Regions from separate parts of the Homo sapiens genome. Here region 1 is linked to region 2. The links are contacts of gene promoters, found by promoter capture Hi-C in human tissues and cell types (Jung and others, 2019). All regions are on one chromosome and are shown on one strand. Each heading gives the region's core, a stretch centred on a gene start or on the middle of the fragment in contact. The rest is flanking DNA. Distances are from core to core; before and after follow the strand shown.

Evidence for each region. Contacts are between HindIII fragments. The study calls those that stand out against the background at their distance.
Region 1: a contact is called between a fragment that was not itself captured here and the fragment with the promoter of PCDH7 in region 2, in 1 of the 25 tissues and cell types used here (H1 embryonic stem cells).

The regions. Positions count from the first base shown.
Region 1 is chr4:31,055,777-31,061,224 of GRCh38, forward strand. All of the region lies in intron 2 of PCDH7 (protocadherin 7), which reads left to right. Among named protein-coding and RNA genes, the nearest start is that of LINC02497, 110 kb to the right of the region's middle. The HindIII fragment of the contact is 5,592 bases long and covers 524-5,448 here.
Region 2 is chr4:30,717,632-30,723,086 of GRCh38, forward strand. PCDH7 (protocadherin 7) reads left to right here and starts at 2,738. Exons shown (of 3, transcript NM_001173523.2): 1 at 2,738-5,455. The coding sequence starts at 3,792. LOC124900844 reads right to left here and starts at 1,490. Exons shown (of 1, transcript XM_047416545.1): 1 at 1-1,490. The coding sequence starts at 276. RefSeq lists an enhancer at 3,547-4,257. The HindIII fragment of the contact is 10,727 bases long and covers 1-5,455 here.

The DNA of each region.
Region 1 (5,448 bases), core at 2,070-4,569, 340 kb after region 2:
ATGTTAGCCAGGCTGGCCTTGAACTCCTGACCTCAAATGATCCACCCACCTCGGCCTCCCAAAGTGCTAGGATTACAGGCCATATAAAGGCACCTGCACCCAGCCATATAAAGGCTTTATAATCTTCTTTAAGTATTCTCACAGAAGACTCTTCCTCATCTTTGTCAAAGAGGAAATACTAAATAAATTATTGCCCAGGCATTGTAATGTAGGTCTCAAATTCTAGAACTGAGTAAATCAGTTGTAGTTAGTAATGTTTTCCCTTTAAGACTAAGAATGTATCCCAGAAGTGGACTTAGAAAATAATGAGAGCCGGGCGTGGTGGCTCATGCATGTAATCTCAATACTTCGGGAGTCTGAGGCAGAAGGATCATTTGAGCCCAGGAGTTCTAGACCAGCCTGGGCAATGTGGGGAAACCCCATCTTTAAAAAAATACAAAAATTAGCCTGGTGTGGTGGCATACGCCTGTGGCCCCAGCTACTTGGGATGCTGAGGATGTAGGATCATTTGAGCCGAGGAGGTCGAAGCTGTAGTAAGCCGTAATAGTGTCACTGCACTCCAGCATACGTGACAGAGAGAGACCCTGACAGGAAAGGAAGAAAGAAAGAAGGAAAGAAGGAAAGGAAGAAAGAAAGAAGGAAAGAAGGAAAGAAAAAGAAAGAAGGAAAGAAAGAAAGAAAGAAGAAAGAAAGAAAGAAAGAAAGAAAGAAAGAAAGAAAGAAAGAAAGAAAGAAAGAAAGGGGAAGGGAAGGGAAGGAAGGAGAGAGGGAGAGAGAGAGAGGAAGGGAAGGGAAGAGAGGAAGGGAAGGGAGGAAGGAAGGAAAGGAGAGAGAGAGAGTGAAAGACAGAGAGAGAGAGGAGAGAGAGAGAGAAAGAGAGAGAGGAGAGAGAGAAAGAGAAAGAGAGAGGAGAGAGACAGCAAGAGAGAAAGAGAAAAAGGAAGGGAAAGAAAGAGAAACGAAAGCAAAGAAAAGAAAGAGAGCCCAATGATGGGATTTCACCATGTTGGCCAGGCTGGTCTTGAACTCCTGACTTCAGGTGATCCTCCCTCTTTGGTCTCCCAAAGTGCTGGGATTACAGGCATGAGCCACCACACCCAGCCAACATTTTCTTAAATAGTCATCCATTAGTCAAATATCCAAATGGGACAAACTTTAAATATGTATGTTTGTCAATGAATATCTTAATTCATTTGTGTTACGTATTAAGGATTTGTTTATTTTTAGAAAATTTCAGTGTTTAGGAAAAAATGCGTTATTAAATAAGTTTGGCCTTTGTTTAAGTCTATTCATTTATAAATAGTATATTCATAAATGTACTTTATTAGAAATATTTGTAAACCTGTGAGATCTTTTTTCTTATTCTTTTGCCAACTTTCAAAAATAGTTTTACTTTCATAAGTAGAAAAGCTTAGTCATATTATATTTTCCTCTCTTCTTCTACACCTAGCAGAAATTGACTTTATTTTTCTGACTCCATTTAAATAATAATCTCTCCTCCATTTTTCTTCAAAATAAAGTCATCATAGAAAATGGGAAGATGAAGCCATGGTCCTAAAGCACAGTCTCTGAAATAGAACAAGCATTGTCACTTTCAACAGTAGTGATGCAGAGGTGGGTCATTGCATGAGTCTCCTGGTATAAACATATATGAACTTTTCTGTACTGGGGATTAGAGAAGAGATTAAAACTTTCCTATATGTCCGTGAGAACTGGGCTGTATGTGATAATACACCTGATGATTAAGGTCACATGCCAGTTAGCTATGGGAATCCAATTCTGTCAGTGAATTCAACTACCAAAGTAACACCATGTATTCCCTAAGAATGAACAAGAAAATCAAGCTTAGGTATATCCCTTTAGGAATCAACAGTAGTGTGATCATTTAAATACATTGTTTAAAAATCTTACTTAGTTTAGAAAAATTTATTGCTCATTACTATACATCTCCATCACTACAACCAGCTATTTCCTCATCTAACCATTTCTTTAGAAGAGGCTTACTTAGCACCTACTAAATACATATAGCACAATCAGAATGCAAAACCGATGAAATATCCTTGTAAGATACTTACTCTCTTAAAGAGGAGACAAAACATGTACCTGGAATATGTACATATTCTTTCTAACTGCCTTTAGAATCATAGAAAGCATGATTAGGGGTTCAAAGAAAAGATAAATCTTCTAGTGGATGCTCACAGGAGAGTCTTAGGATTTAAATATCCAATTAAGTTGAAATGACCTTTGACAACTGAAAGCAATAAGATTCCAATGAAGTATCTGCTATAAAATAAGAGTTTGCAGCTTTGAAATAGTTTTATTTAGAAGCAGTAGAGAAAAATTTGGCTTCTCTGACACAACCAAAAAAATTAAAATTAAAGTAAAATAAAATAAATCCCTCAACAAACAACACACACACGCAACAAAAATACCAATGAACAACTTTCATCAATTAATTCTGTGCAAGGAATTGGGTGATACCCATTTTCACTTAAAGAGTTTTTACTGTATTCTTTGTTTTAATCCATTCTGTTTAATAGAGTATGCACAATGGTGAGGTTCTGTGAAATTCATCTTAAATAATGTTGATGCCTGGGTAAGCAATATTAATTTATTTGTTAAAGGCTTGTTGATATATGCCAGTCTACTGAAGCAAAATTTACCCCAAAATTTATAAATTTAACAGACAAAGAGTATGATCCTTAAGATCATTTTAGTTAGGCAGAGTGCATTTACCTGAGAAGTAAATGATATATATGACATTTTGTTCCAAAGATGGTTTTCTAATTTTTATTACTTTATTTAATGAGCTTCCTGAGGACAATAAATATAATTTGACCATTGATTTAATTAAGGAGGTAAAAGACCTTCTTATAATGTAGGTAATATTTTTGGAAATTAATGAATGAAAGTTAATTGCCTGGCAGTCTTTCACACCAACTGTGTTGGCAATCTAGTGGCAAACCTAATAAACACTCTCTCATGTAGACAAATGTGCTTTAGATAATGATGGAGTTTTTGAGTGGGTGATTCCAGAGACAGTCATTCGAAAGGAGGACAATAGAATGAATAGAGCCAAATAGAAGAATTAACAAAAGCAGTGATACACAGAATTGTGAAGCTATTTACAGGCTGACACTCACTGCCACATGTAACTGACTGCCGATCTAAAACCTATTGTTCCATTTTTATTGGGTAAAAGTCATAGGCTCTAATTCAATACTTAAGAGAAATTGAAGCAATCTTTCCCTTATATGGAGAAACCTGATGCTTAAAAAACATTTCAAGTTTTTTTCCTTTAGAATTTACTTCTTAAAATTGTGATATTTGTCTTGACTTCATACCATTATGTCTTAAGATCATTTTTGTATTTGCTGACTTTCATATGGTTTTTGAAGTGTATATTTATATTTGAATTAACTTGAAATGACAACCAATTTTGAAGCAAATCTTTATTCTGAGGAGAAATGTTCTATGAATGCTTGATGACAGCATCTGTATGACTTGCATAACTTCTTAAAAATTGTGTTCTTAAAATAATAGAAATCAAAACTCTTTTGTTCCTAATAACACTTCTGGCAACAATGTATGATTACTATTTTTTAAAATCAATTTAGGTATAGTTATCCAGGCCTCTTCAACACTCATTGAAAGCATGACAGTAGAATTGTATCAATTCAGATTACTCAGTCATATTTATTCATAATCTCCAGAGTATATGTAAATATTTTCTTCTAAAGATTAAGCTCCATGTCACTTCAGTGTTGTTTTATTTGCCCTCAAAATGATAACAAGTTAAACTGTTTGAACACATAGTAAAAGAATATGATTTTCAACTTGAGCTAGACAGATGTACATTTCCATTTGTTCAATAATCTGGGAAAACGAAAATTTATATTTAGTGAAGGACAGTTGAGTCAGATATCTCTGAATTCTATTCTGTGTTTCTAATAACCCAAATAAATTACAATCAAGAGAATATTTTTCAACAATTATATGTAATCTTATCTCCATTGATTTATATGTATGTATAATTGAAGCATTATACATATTTACTATATAAAGTATTCTTTTATTACCTGTATAAAATATTAGGCTGAAAGTAACCTTAGAGATCATCTAATCTATGTTCATTCTACAAGTTGAAGAGATTGAGCAACATCAAGGCAAAATAACTCATAAAATTACACAATTATTGAAGCATAATGATGGCTAGAATCATTATGATGCCAGCTTTTCTTTGTTTAGTCAGAGATACCAGACCAAAGAAATGTAGAGTGTGCTGATTTCCATTAAGAGGGCCTTTATCTTTAAGTAGAAATTTATACAAATGTGGCTAAATCCCATAAAGTATAAATCAGTGGCATCTGGTTGCAAGCTCATTTTTCCTTTGCTCTTGTAAGCTGGGAAGAGATGGATATTTTCTGGACACATTGTCCCCAATCTTGGTTATGAAAGTAGATATCTTTGTATGATAATAAATTACTTCCCTTAGCATTTAAATGACTAAGACCGTACTCACTGACTGTTTATTTATTTGGGGTCACTTAATTATACTTTTGCTAGCATTCATGTATAAAGAAACCTTTATTTCTTACATTTCTGAAGAGCTCCCTGTATCCAGCTAGGTTCTTAAATGCTTTTGTCTTCCTCATTGCCGTATTGTTTGATGCCCCTTGGTGGCCAAATATTTAATTAAAGTCCCTTGAGGGGACAGTTTTCATGATTTGTTATTGGACATCTGCCAAAGCTTAATTCACCAAATTTTTGCCATCAACTTAGGTTACTTCTATGTATATTTTTAATACTGTCCATATGCCTTAAGTTTTAAATATTCCCCAACAGCAATCATTTCTTACCATCTCCAAAACCTAAACATATTCAATTTCAACATATATGAAGGTTAGTGTGTAATTTCTTCTTCTAATCTGCTTATAATTCTTTTAAGTTAGTGATTTTTCATTGTGTTTTTCTTTGAAGCACAAAGACTGTCAGCCATGAGGATGAAAATGTTGATTTAGTTAACTTAGATAATACATCAGTAATGATAAATATTATTTATTGAATGTCAGTTTTTCAACATTCTCTGTAGTGAGCACATAACATGCATCTATTTTTGCATTAAATTTCACTACAAATTTAGGGAAAGTTTTCATTATTCTCAGTAAAACAAGATGGGTTGTTAAGTAACTTGCTCAAATTTATGCCATTTATAAGGAGAGACTCTTCGTTTCTGTCAAGATCTCTTGGAATCCAGGTTTTAATAATTTCAAAATACAAACTTCTCTTAGAAAGTGCATGCCTGTCCCCTGTTTACTGACTTCATTTATTGTCATGTTGATTTCTATGGGATATGAAATTCTAGAACATGTGTAGTTTACAAGGAAGTTTTAAATTACACTGTCAGTGTTTTACTTACAAGTCTGTGGTTTGTATCATTTGCACTGT
Region 2 (5,455 bases), core at 1,488-3,987:
GACGCGCTGCAACTCCCTAGTCATCCGGGAAGAAATGTGCAGCGCGCTGAGGAAAAGCCGCCCACTCCTTCGCGCCCCGCTCAAGTGTGCGCCTGGAGAGTGCGCGCCAGAGCCGCGAGCAAATGCTTTGAAGATGCGGAGAGGCTTATTCAAGTTTATGGTCTGGAGAGGGAAGAGGGAGTGCACAACGTTTCTGCCCAAGCGGCTGCCTGAAGTTTGCAAAATCTTAGTAAGGCGATGAGGGGAGTGAGTGCACTGCACCATATTGCCGCGCATCGGAATGCACGGCGCAAGGCCGCGGAGTGGAGACGGCTTCTCCCATTTGCCTCCAACCTGGGAAAAAGGGGAACCAGGGTCGGAGGTTTGGAGAGAGGCAGGCGTTCCGATAAACCCGGGTTCTTGCCAAATGTAAGAGGGATTTGGCTTTACTGCCACTTAGCCGGCCGCGAAGGCGCTGCGGAGCCCACCCCCGCCCCCGGCTCGAGACTGCGGCGGTGCGCACTGAGCCTGCGCGCGGGGCTTTTCTCGCTGATGCTGCAGATACAGAGCTGAGAGGTTCGGGTGCCAGCAGCGGGAGGGTTAGCGGGAAGGCCGGGTTCCCTGCCCTGGCCTCGGAGGAGGAGCCACCACCCCTGGGGTGATGCTACTTTCACAGACTGGAAAATACTCGCCAGCTCCCTGACACACACTTAGACACACTTCCATCCAACGGGCATCTACGATCCCCTGTAGGGAGAGCTTGGAAATCTCTGCCGCCTCTCCCTCCTCATTCCTGTTCCTGCGCCCGCCCAAACAACCGCGCGCTACATCTGCTCGTTGACTTTATTGGTGTTTGTCTTGTTTAAATCATTCTGCCTCGTCACCCAGGTCTCGTAAAGAATACCCACACTGGACAGATTTTATTTTTTCGGCTTTAAATTTTTCTTTGAGGGGAGGCCCTTAAATGTGTATGGATACGTCAGGCGAGCTGAAGACTAAGCAAATCCCAGCAGCGGCCCTTTCTCTCTTTCGAGATGGTAAAAATTCTCCCCAAATACCTACAGTCCGTCTCAGTCGTCTTAATCCTAGCCGGGCCTCTTCGTTTACAGCCACTGAAATAAATGAGTAAATGGCTCAGTTCAAAAACACAACCAGACCTGAGATCTGATGAGGCCGGCTGCGGTGGTCGTGAATGAAAATTGGAGAAGCCTTGCTTCAGGAAATAGGGACAGTCAAGGGACACAAAGTCAAAAGGAGAGATGGGAAAGCTGGGGACACTTTGGTACACAAAGTTGCCATTAAAGTTTATTTCCCTTTTATCCAGATAGGTGACGCTACACTTTGCCAGTTACTAAAGGCTGCAGGTTTCTGCTCAGAAAATAATATCGAGGTTTCCAACATGTGTTTATTCCCCAGGCGCGCACACACGGTCTACCCCCGCAAGCAAGCACGACGACAGGAATGTCAAGCATTTAAACAAAGACAGACATCCTTCACCCTCCACCCACCGCCGCCCCTGCCCCCCGCAACCATCCAAAGTCTGAGCTCCCAAAAAAGGATCTTTCTCCAGCTCTCTGGAGTTTGATGTTCTCTCTTCACTACTGCAGCCCGTCATGGTTTTTCAGAACAGAGTGGCTTTCTGGGCGCTCGTAGGTTCCCCAGGACCCCGATAACCATGTCCTAACCAAGATCCTAAATCGCGAACCGGAGACACTTTCCGGGGGGAGGAGGACGTCGTCTGAGAGGGAGGGAGAAGGAGAAACCTATCCTGACACCAGCTCCGAAAGCTCTCACGCGTGAACTGGGCATTAGTCAAGGGAGGAGGAAATTTACCAGCCCGAGGGAGGGAAAACAAGTCCCCCAGAGAAGACGGCGGTACTCGCTAGGGAGGGGGACTGGGCTTTGGCTTAAAGAGGACTGGCTGGGATTGGGCACACTTTGAGCGGCCCCTGGAGCTGAGGCTGGGCTTTCCCGAGCGCGGCGGCTGGCTGACGCTCCCTCCCGCCTCCTTATCCCGGGCCCTCCTCCCTCGCTCTCTCCTAGTGTGTAGTTTCGGCGGCTCGGCTGCTACTGCCGCCGCCGCTGCAGCAGCAGCGTCAGGGACAAGCCTGATCCGTGAGCGAGCGAGCACCCAGCAGCAACCACCACTTTGGGCAACTTGCGGGTTTCCTGCTCGCGGGTAGCGAACGGGAGATTCCCACTAGCGGTTCAGTGTCTCCGAGCCGCTGCAGCCCGAGGGGCGGCGGGAGCGCCCGCACCAGACTCTCCCAGACGCGAAAAGGGACGAGACAACTGCGGAATTCACCAGCCGTGCCAGGGCACTTCCGAGGCCACAACCGACTGACACTTTTTCTCCCCTTGGCAAACTGGATTTTTTTTTTTAAGCTACTTGGCAGCTGTCTCTGACTCCACCTCCCCCTCCACCCCCGCCCGAAAGCCTTTGGCTTTTCTTCGGAAATCCAGACAGAATTGGGCATCTTTGTTAATTGCCGTTGGGGACGCCCGGCCGTGCGCTTTCGCCGGCTAACGTCGCCTGTGCTCCGAGCCTGGTTTGCTCACCTTTGAACTGCAAAGGGATCAAGTTCAGCTTGAGTTCCCTGCATTGGGAAGGAGAGAGAGCGTGCAAGAGAGCGAGTGGGAGAGGGGGAAAGGGGAAAGGAGAGGAGGGAGGAGAGAGAGGAGGGAGGAGAGAGAAAGGGAGGGAGGGAGGGGAGGGATCGAGAGAGAGCGGGGAGAGAGAGGCTGCAATCTCCTCCCTGAATCGCGCACAGCGCTGCAGATCCCACTGCTCCGACATGCGGGCCGAATGCAGGTGAGAAAAGGCACGGACTCTGCGGCTGCGAACCCAAACTTGGGCACCGCACGGTGCGCACTGCTCAGCCTTCGCCCCCGTGGGCGAAAGGCTGCTGCGGTTTCAGGCGGCTGCTTCGTGACTAATGACCTTGCGCAGAGTTGTTAAGAAAAAAGAGAAACCCGCGCTCTCCGGGGTGAGAAGGGACTGACTCTGGGCGTCTCTGAAGATGGCTCGGGCTTCTCTTTGGCGCGCCGGGGGGACCCTGACACTGACCGCTCTGTGACGCGAGTAGTCTCCCCTGCACCGTGCCCGAAGCGACGTGCCGGGGGATTTTTCATTCTCGATCTGTTGACTGGCTCCCCCGCTGCATGAGCAGAGTCGGAGTTGAGACTGGCTTGTTGCTGGCCCCAGCGCCTGGTGCAGGAAGCGACTCACGTTTGTCTGGGTGGCCGGAGCCGGAGCAGAGCCTGGGTTTGGAGTGAGTGCCTGGAACGTGAATTGGACTCAACTCGAGTAGCAGCAAAGACCAGCGGGCTGGCAGGCGGGGGAGGCTGCAGGCTCATTCCCCACCTCTTCCCAGCCCCACTGCCCGTCTGCCGGAGCGGTTCTGGCCCCTTCCGACAGAGCGGGGACTAGAGCCGGGGATTCTCCGCCCGCTGAGGGGATGACTCTGGGTTGGGGGAGCGCCGAACCCGCGGCGCGCAGTGTCCCGTGAACTGTGAGTACTGCGACTGAACGGCGGCAGGCGAGCGGGCGATTAGCACCCATTGCATGAATTATGAAACAATAACTTTCGGAAGAAGCAGGAGGAAAAAAAGAAGCATCTATCGCTGCCCTCCCACCCCCATTCCCGGCCAACTCTCCACGCCGCTTTTGCCCCCTCCCTCCCCTCCCTCTCGCTCCTTCCTTTCCGGGAGAGGGGAGAGGACTCGGGGGAGGGCAGGCGGCCGGCCCCGGAGGAGGGGGGCGCCGAGGGGGCTGTGGTTAGAAGGAGCAGTAGCAGCAGCAGCAGGAGAAGATGCTGAGGATGCGGACCGCGGGATGGGCGCGCGGCTGGTGCTTGGGCTGCTGCCTCCTCCTGCCGCTCTCGCTCAGCCTGGCGGCCGCCAAGCAGCTCCTCCGGTACCGGCTGGCCGAGGAGGGCCCCGCCGACGTCCGCATCGGCAACGTGGCTTCAGACCTGGGCATCGTGACCGGATCGGGTGAGGTGACTTTCAGCCTGGAGTCCGGTTCCGAGTACCTGAAGATCGACAACCTCACTGGCGAGCTGAGCACGAGCGAGCGGCGCATCGACCGCGAGAAGCTGCCCCAGTGTCAGATGATCTTCGACGAGAACGAGTGCTTCCTGGACTTCGAGGTGTCGGTGATCGGGCCCTCGCAGAGCTGGGTGGACCTGTTTGAGGGTCAGGTCATCGTGCTTGACATCAACGACAACACGCCCACCTTCCCGTCGCCCGTGCTCACGCTCACGGTGGAGGAGAATCGGCCGGTGGGCACACTTTACCTGCTGCCCACAGCCACCGACCGCGACTTCGGCCGCAACGGCATCGAGCGCTACGAGCTGCTCCAGGAGCCCGGAGGCGGCGGCAGCGGCGGCGAGAGCCGGCGCGCCGGGGCGGCCGACAGCGCCCCCTACCCCGGGGGCGGCGGGAACGGCGCGAGCGGCGGCGGCTCGGGAGGCTCCAAGCGGCGGCTGGACGCATCAGAGGGCGGCGGCGGCACCAACCCCGGCGGCCGCAGCAGCGTGTTCGAGCTGCAGGTGGCGGACACCCCGGACGGCGAGAAGCAGCCGCAGCTGATCGTGAAGGGGGCGCTGGACCGCGAGCAGCGCGACTCCTACGAGCTGACCCTGCGAGTGCGCGACGGCGGCGACCCGCCTCGCTCCTCGCAGGCCATCCTACGGGTCCTCATCACCGACGTGAACGACAACAGCCCCCGCTTCGAGAAGAGCGTGTACGAGGCCGACTTGGCTGAGAACAGCGCCCCGGGGACCCCCATCCTGCAACTGCGCGCAGCCGACTTGGACGTGGGGGTCAACGGGCAGATCGAATACGTGTTCGGGGCGGCCACCGAGTCGGTGAGGCGGCTGCTGCGCCTTGACGAGACGTCCGGCTGGCTCAGCGTCCTGCACCGGATCGACCGCGAGGAGGTGAACCAGCTGCGCTTCACGGTCATGGCCCGCGACCGCGGGCAGCCCCCCAAGACCGACAAGGCCACCGTGGTCCTTAACATCAAAGACGAGAACGACAACGTGCCGTCCATTGAAATCCGCAAGATTGGGCGCATCCCCCTCAAGGACGGGGTGGCCAACGTGGCCGAGGACGTTCTGGTCGACACCCCCATCGCTCTGGTGCAGGTGTCCGACCGAGACCAAGGCGAGAACGGGGTGGTCACCTGCACCGTGGTGGGCGACGTGCCCTTCCAGCTCAAGCCAGCCAGCGACACCGAGGGCGACCAGAACAAGAAAAAGTACTTCTTGCACACCTCGACCCCTCTGGACTATGAGGCCACCCGGGAGTTCAACGTGGTCATCGTGGCGGTGGACTCAGGCAGCCCCAGCCTCTCGAGCAACAACTCCCTGATTGTCAAGGTGGGAGACACCAACGACAACCCGCCCATGTTCGGCCAGTCGGTGGTGGAGGTTTACTTCCCTGAGAACAACATCCCGGGCGAGAGGGTGGC